Linked DNA regions of Homo sapiens: regions 2 and 3 are each linked to region 1. Evidence: promoter capture Hi-C in human tissues and cell types (Jung and others, 2019). All regions are on one chromosome and are shown on one strand. Each heading gives the region's core, a stretch centred on a gene start or on the middle of the fragment in contact. The rest is flanking DNA. Distances are from core to core; before and after follow the strand shown.

Evidence for each region. The method cuts DNA at HindIII sites, captures the fragments that hold promoters and counts their contacts. A contact is called where the count stands out against the background at its distance.
Region 2: a fragment that was not itself captured here is called in contact with the fragment with the promoter of CDKN2AIPNL in region 1 in 3 of the 25 tissues and cell types used here (aorta, lymphoblastoid cells and pancreas).
Region 3: a fragment that was not itself captured here is called in contact with the fragment with the promoter of CDKN2AIPNL in region 1 in 2 of the 25 tissues and cell types used here (bladder and dorsolateral prefrontal cortex).

What each region holds. Positions count from the first base shown.
Region 1 is chr5:134,410,301-134,413,257 of GRCh38, reverse strand. CDKN2AIPNL (CDKN2A interacting protein N-terminal like) reads left to right here and starts at 1,377. Exons shown (of 3, transcript NM_080656.3): 1 at 1,377-1,642. The coding sequence starts at 1,404. RefSeq lists enhancers at 509-1,246, 1,234-1,723, 1,247-1,985. The HindIII fragment of the contact is 17,979 bases long and covers 1-2,817 here.
Region 2 is chr5:134,485,819-134,488,847 of GRCh38, reverse strand. No RefSeq gene overlaps it. Among named protein-coding and RNA genes, the nearest start is that of LINC01843, 19 kb to the left of the region's middle. The HindIII fragment of the contact is 6,099 bases long and covers 1-3,029 here.
Region 3 is chr5:134,328,945-134,331,644 of GRCh38, reverse strand. All of the region lies in intron 4 of CDKL3 (cyclin dependent kinase like 3), which reads left to right. Among named protein-coding and RNA genes, the nearest start is that of CDKL3, 37 kb to the left of the region's middle. The HindIII fragment of the contact is 4,026 bases long and covers 1-2,700 here.

The DNA of each region.
Region 1 (2,957 bases), core at 128-2,627:
CAAAGAATTGACAGACAGGAGTGTGTGTTGGTGGCGGAGGTCACAGAGACCTTGAGGCTTCTTCATCAGTTCAGCATGTCAAAATACATTTTGGGGTGTTGGTTTCTGAGCCCCAACACCCAGTTACTGTAGTTGAATGCTTCCAGGGATGGAAAATTCACCACTTAAAAGGAAGCTCTTTTTTCTCTCAGTGTGTCTGCTACCTGAGACTCGAACAGACAGCAGAGTCATGCCAGCTAAATAAAAACTTTCAGGTCCAGCCAGTTACGATGGCTCATACCTGTAATCCCAGCATTTTGGGAGGCTGAGGGAGACGGATCACTTGAGCTCAGGAGTTCGAGACCAGCCTGGGCAACATGGCGAAACCCTGTCTCTATTTAAAACCAAGTCCAAACTTGCTCATTTCCTCTGGACACATTGTTTCTGGCTCCTTCCAGCATCTTTTGTAAACACAGGTGTCACTGTTCTGGTTAAAATCCTTCAGCGGCTCCCCATTCTTGGGATCTAGCCAGGATCCCTGCCTGGCCTACTGGCCTTGCTGACCTCTGCAACTTCATCTTCTCCATTCTCTACCTGCCCTGCCCCGCCCCCCAACCCCTCCTACCCCCTATCTTGCAATTCTCTTACCAGGCCATGCTCTCTCTTGCTTTGACCGACTCCCCTTTACTCAGAAAACTGCTCATTCTTCACTTCTCCAGGATCACTTCCCTGACCCCAAGACTAGATTGGGTCCCTTGCTTATTCATGGTTGTAGCACGCTGAACTTCTCTTTACTAATACTTGTCAACGCTGAAATTCTCCATTTACTTGAGCAATTATGTCACTAATGTCCACTCCTCCACTCCATGGTAAAGTTCAGGCGAGCAGGGCTCCGAATGTGCTCTCATTGCCTCTCCAGCACCTAGCAATGTGCCTGGCAAGTATTCACGGGATGGATGGATTACTCGCTCCAGGAAGGCGGGCCCCAACCTTCGTGGCTGTGGAGACCCCTGGAAGTCGACCGTGACCCGGGCCCCCTGATGTCGCTCAGGATGAGGCGGTGCCCGGGAAACTCTCAGGGCAAGGGCACAGCATAGCTCTGGCTGGCATCCAGCTGCCAACTGGAAGAGGGCGCTCCGAATCTGTGTTTAGGGACCTCAGTTTTCCCACCGGTTCCCCGCAGGGTCGACCGCAAAAGACCCTTGTAGCCCTGGGTAGACCCAGGGCAGGAGCCACGGGCTGCGGCGGTCTGAGGAGCCAGGAGCCGCTCTGTGCCCCCGCAGGCCGCCGCTCCGGGCGAGGGCGCTCCAGGTTGGTCTTCTGGAGCAGTCGTGCGCTGATGGGGCCCCTCTGGCCGGCAGGCGGTGGCGCAGTGCGCGTCGGGAAGGCGGCGGGCTATCCGGTCCTCGGCTGCGGCGGGCACCATGGTCGGTGGCGAGGCGGCTGCCGCAGTGGAGGAGCTGGTTTCGGGGGTGCGGCAGGCGGCCGACTTCGCGGAGCAGTTCCGCTCCTACTCAGAGAGCGAGAAGCAATGGAAGGCCCGCATGGAATTCATCCTGCGCCACCTGCCCGACTACCGCGACCCGCCCGACGGCAGTGGCCGCCTGGACCAGCTGCTCTCCCTCTCCATGGTCTGGGCCAACCATCTCTTCCTAGGCTGCAGGTGCGGACCCCTGCCGGCCGGCTGATCCTGTCCCCTATCTTCCGACCCTCAAGGCCTCTCCCAGGGCTCACCCCTGACCCGAACCTCTGCCCCAGACTGAACCCGGGCCCAACCTCCATCCGCATTGGTCGGCCCGAAGACTGATTCCCACCCTGGAGGCCCCTTGGAAAGATCCTTATCTTTGAGCCTCAGTTTTCTCTTCTGGTAAAAGGGTGGTTATGATGGCTGTAATAATTAAAGGGTGAAGAGCTAAATACATGGCGGGTTCAAAGGTTGCTATTGTTATTTGTATTACTATTATTATTAGCTCAAACCATCACCTTTGCAGTATGCATTCGAAGTCCGTTAGCCCCTGTCACCTACATGGCAAACGTGCAGAGAGAGAAACGGAGATCCCCATTTTACAGATGAAAAAGCTTAGGGAGAGAAGTGATATACCTGGGGCCATGCAGCTTCTGGCAGGATTGATGGATTTTAATCACTAATGAGAGGATGTAATCTGTATCCTATGGCTTTTTCTCCTCACTCCACAGCCCACGGGGTCCTAAGTAGGAACCAGCTTCACCTCTCTGCTTTCCCTCTTATGAAAATGGCCGATGCCTTTTTGTGAAGGTCTCAAAGCCCACTTCATCCTGGCTGCAGCACCAAAAGGACAAAGGCCCGCTTTTGAAGTGCCTGATAAGGCATTCCTTTCACCCCTCCATGAGGAAGGTGGCAAATCTTGAGACTCCCTATTAGAGAGCTTCGATTTTCCTGAAATTGTGTTAGGAAAATAGGGTGACTTGGTTTGATCTTGGTTTCTATACCTATTATGGCTGCCTGACTCTGGTCATTTGGCCCCTGCAGGCCTAAGCCACTTGGTTTTGCTTCACATATTGGGGTTTATTAGAACAGTACGTAGGGAAGCAATGCCAGAGGCACCCGTCCCTTTTCCCTGCCTTCTAGGTGCTCCTGGGAAATCCTGGTTTTCCATGGTTAGGCAAATGTCAGAGAATTGGGGAAATAAATAATGTTTTTGTTAGACTAACATTCCATGTATTTAAAAAATAAAAATATTTTGGTCCTCATCCTGTATCTGAGAATATCTGTTGCTGGATGTACAGTGCCTCTGTTCTTCTAAATCTTGAAACATCTGCTGTACTGGTATTTCTGAAGTCCACTTCTGTATCTACAAGCAAGAAGTGTTCACAGGGCCAGGCACGGTGTCTCACGCCAGTAATCCTAGCACTTTGGGAGGAGGATCACTTGAGGTCAGGAGTTGGAGACCAGCCTGGCCAACATGGTGAAACCCTGTCTCTACTAAAAATAAAAAATT
Region 2 (3,029 bases), core at 242-2,741, 75 kb before region 1:
AATGGGCTACAAAGAGCACAAACTATAAAAATCGATAAATTGGGCATCATCAAAATTAAGAGCTATTATGAAAGGCAAGCCACAGACTGGAAAAAAAAATTGTAAAACATATATCTTAAAACTCAATAAAAAGATAACCCAATTGAAAAATGGGCAAAAGAATTGAATATGCACCTCATCAATGAAATATATTTAGATGGCAAATAAATACATGAAAAGATGCTCAACACAGTTTGTCATTAGGCAACTACAAATTAAAACTACATGCCCCCTAGAAGGGCTAGAATTTAAAATAACTGACCAGGCTAGGCGTGGTGGCTCACATCTGTAATCCCAGCACTTTCATAGGCCGAGGCAGCCGGATCACCTGAGGTCGGGAGTTTGAGACCAGCCTGGCCAATATGGTGAAACCCTGTCTCTACTAAAAATACAAAAATTAGCAGGGCATGGTGGCATGCGCCTGTAATCCCAGCTACTTGGGAGACTGAGGCAGGAAAATCGCTTGAACCCAGGAGGTGGAGATTGCAGTGAGCCGAGATCTTGCCACCGCACTCCAGGCTGGGCGACAGGGCGAGACTCCATCTCAAAACAGAAAAACAAACAATAAAACAAAATAACTGACCAAATCAAGTATTGGCAAAGATGGAGTCCAGGAAGGGTACAACAGGAACTCTCTCATATGCTGCTGATGAGAACGCAAAATGGAACAACCACTTCGGAAAACACTTAGATCATTTCTTAAAAAGATAAATATATACCTATCATATGACCCAGCCATTCCATTCCTAGGTATTTACCAAAGAGAAATGAAAGCATATGTCCATACAAAGTTTTGTACACAATGTTCATAGTTGCTTTATTTATAACAGCCCCAAACTGGGAATAATCCAAATGTCTATCAACAAGATAGTGGAAAAACAAATTGCCATATATCCAGATAATGGAATACTGCTCAACAATAAAAAGGAATGAACTGCTGTTACATACAACAACATAGATGAGCCTCAATATAATTAGTATATACTGTATAGTTCCATTAATATATGATTCTAGAAAAAAGACCAACCTATAGTGACGGATCAGGAGGCACAAGGAGACACTAGGGGATTATGAGTATATTATATGAACACTGCAGAGTCTAACCTTTCTTCACTTGATAGGCATTTATGTTGTTTCCAGTTTGGGCCCTGTGGTAGACAGAGAGATGTGTCACCCAGATCCCTCTTCAAGGAAGGATTTGCTGTCCAGTTGTAGAGGGTGTGATCAGCAGAAACCTTCAGATGACAGCTTCTTTGGGGTCCACCTGAGCTGCAGAGAGCTGCCTTGCCCAACATCATATCCTTTCCAGAGCACTTTGCATCTAGTATCCAACGAAAGCAAGTGAATGGAGGCTGGGCCATTTTCATCCAACACAGGACAACTCAGATGCAGACTATTTGCACCAGAGTTCCCCGCCAGCTTGGCTTGGGTTTCATTAGGCCTGCATCACAGTTTTAACTTCTGCCCAATCCTGCTTTTTCTCCCTTCCCTTCAGAGATGTTTGTATTAGTCTATTTGTGTTGCTATAAAGGAATCCCTGAGACTGGGTAATTTATTAAGAAAAGAGGGTCGGGTGTGGTGGCTCATGCCTGTAGTCCCAGCACTTTGGGAGGCCTAGGTGGTCGGATCACCTGAGGTTAGGAGTTCGAGACCAGCCTTGCCAACACTGTGAAACTCTGTCTCTACTAAATATACAAAAATTAGCCCAATGTGGTGGTGGGTGCCCATAATCCCAGCTACTCGGAAGGTTGAGGCAGGAGAATTGCTTGAACACAGGAGAAGGAGGTTGCAGTGAGCCGAGGTCACGTCATTGTACTTTAGCCTGGGCAACAAGAGCAAAACTCCATCTCAAAAAAAAAAAAAAGAAAAAAGAAAGAAAAGAGGTGGAGGGAGAAGAGCAGGAAAAAAAAGAAAAAAAAAGTAGGCTTATTTGGCTCACCATTCTGCAGGCTGTACATGAAGCATGATGCTGCCAGCATCTACTTTATGGAAGGACCTCAGGAAGCTTCCTCTCATGGTGGAAGGCAAAGGGGGAGCAGGTGTGTCACATGGCAAGAGATGGAGCAAGAGAGGAGGAAGTAACAGGCTCCTTTAAACAACCAGCTCTCCTGTGAACTCATTACCACTCATTACTGCAGCAAGGGCACCAAACCATTCATGAGGGATCAGCCCTGTGACCCGATGCCTACCACTAGGCCCACCTCCAGCATTGTGGGTCACATTTCAACATGATATTTGAAGGAGACAAATATCCAAACCATATCAATGTTGATCCTAATAAATATCTTGTACCCCAAACTCTATCCCAGCATGTTTCCTGAGAACCTGACCTATGACAAGACTACTACAAACAATGCTTCTATGAACATTCTTGTCCATGTTTCCTGATGCACGTAAGCTCACTTTTCTGTAGGATATTTATCTAAGAGCAGAATTGCTGGGGCATAGAGTATGTTATTTTCAGCTTAATTGGATAATGCTGAACTGTATTCTAAAGTAGTTATACAAGTTTGTGTAAATTTACATGAATGAGTGTTTTTGCTAAAACTTGGAATTGTCAAAATTTTAAATTTTGGTCAGTTTGGTAAGTGTGTAGTAGTACTTTATTATGCTTTTATTTTACCTTTCCCACATTACTAAAGAAGTTGATCACATTTTTATGTTACTGACTTTTGGATTTCTTTTTTGTAAAGTTCCTATCTTTTGCCCATTTTTCTGCTGGATTGCCTGTCTTTTATCACTAATTGATATGAATTCTGTATATATTCTAGCAACAAGATTTTTGTCAGTTTTATCTGTTGCAATTATCTTCTATTACTCTGTGGCTGGCCTTTCACTCAATGTTGTCTTTTGATGAACAGATATTCCTAATTTTGTCCATCTTTCCTTTGCGATATTACTTTTTGTACCTTACTTAAGAAAACTTTTAAAATCCAAGACTATGAAGATATTCTTCTACATTATTACTTTAAAGCTTTGTAATTTTGTCT
Region 3 (2,700 bases), core at 198-2,697, 82 kb after region 1:
ATAAAAAAGGACGAGTTCATGTCCTTTGCAGGGACATGAATGAAGCTGGAAACCATCATTCTCAGCAAAATATCACAAGGACAGAAAACCAAACACCACATGTTCTCATAAGTGGGAGTTGAACAATGAGAACACATGGACACAGGGAGGGGAACATCACACACTGGGGCCTGTTGGTGGGTGGGGGCCCGGGGGAGGGATAGTGTTAGGAGAAATACCTAATGTAAATGACGAGTTGATGGGTACAGCAAACCAACATGGCACACATATACCTATGTAACAAACCTGCACATTTTACACATGTACCCTAGAACTTTATAGTAATTTAAAAAATAAATTAAATTAAAAAAAGAAAGGAGGAAAGGATGTTAAAAATGAAGCCTGCAGCAGCAGACCATTCACATCAACTTGTGAGGAAAACATTTATCTTGTTCATGCCCTAATTGAAGGGGACGATTGCCCTAATTGAAGGATGATTAATAGTAGAAACAGTAGCCAACAGTATAGACATCTCAGTTGGTTCAGCTTACACAATTCTGACTGCAAAATTAAAATTGAGCAAACTTTCCACTTGATGGATGCCAAAACCGTTGCAACCAGATCAGCTGCAGACGAGAGCAGAACTTTCAATGGAAATTTTAAACAGGTGGCATCAAGATCCTGAAGCATTTCTTTGAAAAACTGTGACAGATGATGAAACCTGGCTTTACTAACATTATCCTGAAGACGAAGCACTGGCTACCAAGAGGTGGAAGTGGGCTGGTCAAAGCAAGAGTCCAGTCAAGACCAAAGGTCATGGCAATGGTTTTTTTGGGATGCTCAAGGCATTTTGCTTGTTGACTTTCTGGATGACCAGAGAATGATAATATCTGCTTCTTGTGAGAATGTTTCGAGAAAGTTAGCCAAAGCTTTTTTTGTTTTTTTTTCTTTCAGACAGGGTCTGGCTCTGTCACCCAGACTGGAGTGCAGTTGTGGGAACTTGGCTCACTGCAACCTCTGTTTCCTGGGCTCAAGCAATCCTCCCACCTCAGCCTCCCAAGTAGCTGGGACTACAGGTATGTGCCACCATGCCCAGCTACATTTTGTATTTTTTGTAGAGATGGGGTTTCACCATGTTGTCCAGGCTGGTCTCAAACTCCTGAGCTCAAGCACTCTGCCTGCCTTGGTCTACCAAAGTGTTGAGATTACAGGCATGAGCCACTACACCTGGCCAAAAGTGAGCCAAAGATTTAGCAAAATAAACGTCTGGGAAAGCTTCACCAGAGTGTCCATCTCCACCATGACCATGCTCCAGCTCATTCCTCTCATCAAACGAGGGCAATTTTATAAACATTTTGGTGGGAAATTATTAGGCATCTACCTTAAAGTCCTGATTTAGTTCCTCCTCATTCTTTTTTTTCCTAATCTTAAAAAATCTATAAAGGGCACCCATTTTTCTTCAGTTAACAATGTAAAAAGGACTACATTGACATGGTTAAATTCCCAAGACACTCAGTTCTTTAGGGACATACTAAATGGCTTGTATCACTGCTTACAAAAGTATCTTGAACCTTATGGATCTTACACTGAGAATAAAGTTTATATTTTTATTTTTTCTTAGAGTATCATTATTATTATTATTAATTTTTTTTTTTTGAGACAGGGTCTCACTCTGTTGCCCAGACTGGAGTGCAGTGGCGCGATCTCACCTCACTGCAATCTCCACCTTCCAGACTCAAGCAATTCTCCTGCCTCAGCCTCCCAAATAGCTGGGATTACAGGTGTGTGCCACCATGCCCGGCTAATGAGAATAAAGCTTATATTTTAATTTTTATCTTTTAATTCCATTATCATGAACTTTTTGAAGTCCCCTTGTATAATTGCTTTTTAAAATTAATTAACAGCGTGGTGGCTCACGCCTGTAATCCCAGCACTTTGGGAGGCCGAGGTGGGTGGATCACGAGGTCAGGAGATGGAGACCACCCTGGCTAACATGGTGAAACCCCCTCTCTACTAAAAATACAAAAAATTAGCCGGGCGTAGTGGCGGGTGCCTGTAATCCCAGCTACTCTGGAGGCTGAGGCAGGAGAATGGCGTCAACCCAGGAAGCGGAGCTTGCAGTGAGCTGCACTCCACTGCATTCCAGCCTGGGCGACAGAGCGAGACTCTGTCTCAAAAAATAAATAAATAAATAAAATAAAAAATTAAATTAAATTAAATTAATTAACAGAAGAAGAGAGAAAATTCTGCATTTATATTGCCTTTTATAATTACATAATTACCTTTACCAGTGCTCTTTGTTTTTTCATGTGGATTTTTTATTTTTTTGAGACAGGATCTCACTCTGTTACCCAGGCTGGAGTGCAGTGGAGTGATCGTGACTCACTGCAGCCTCAACCTTCTGGGCTCAATCAATCCTCCTGCTTCAGCCTCCCAAATAGTTGGGACTACAGGCATGTGCCACCACACCCACCTAATTTATTTTTTTGTAGAGACAAAGTCTCACTATATTGCCTAGGCTGGTCTCGAACTCCTGTCCTCAAGCAATCTTCCCACCTCAGCCCTCAAATGTGCTGGGATTACAGGTATGAGGAACTGTACCTGGCCTTCCTGTGGATTTGAATTACTGTCTGGGGTCACTTGCTTTCAGTCTTAAGAACTTCATTCAGTATTTCTTGTGAGGTGGATTGGTTAGCAACAAATTCTCTCAGTTTTTGTTTA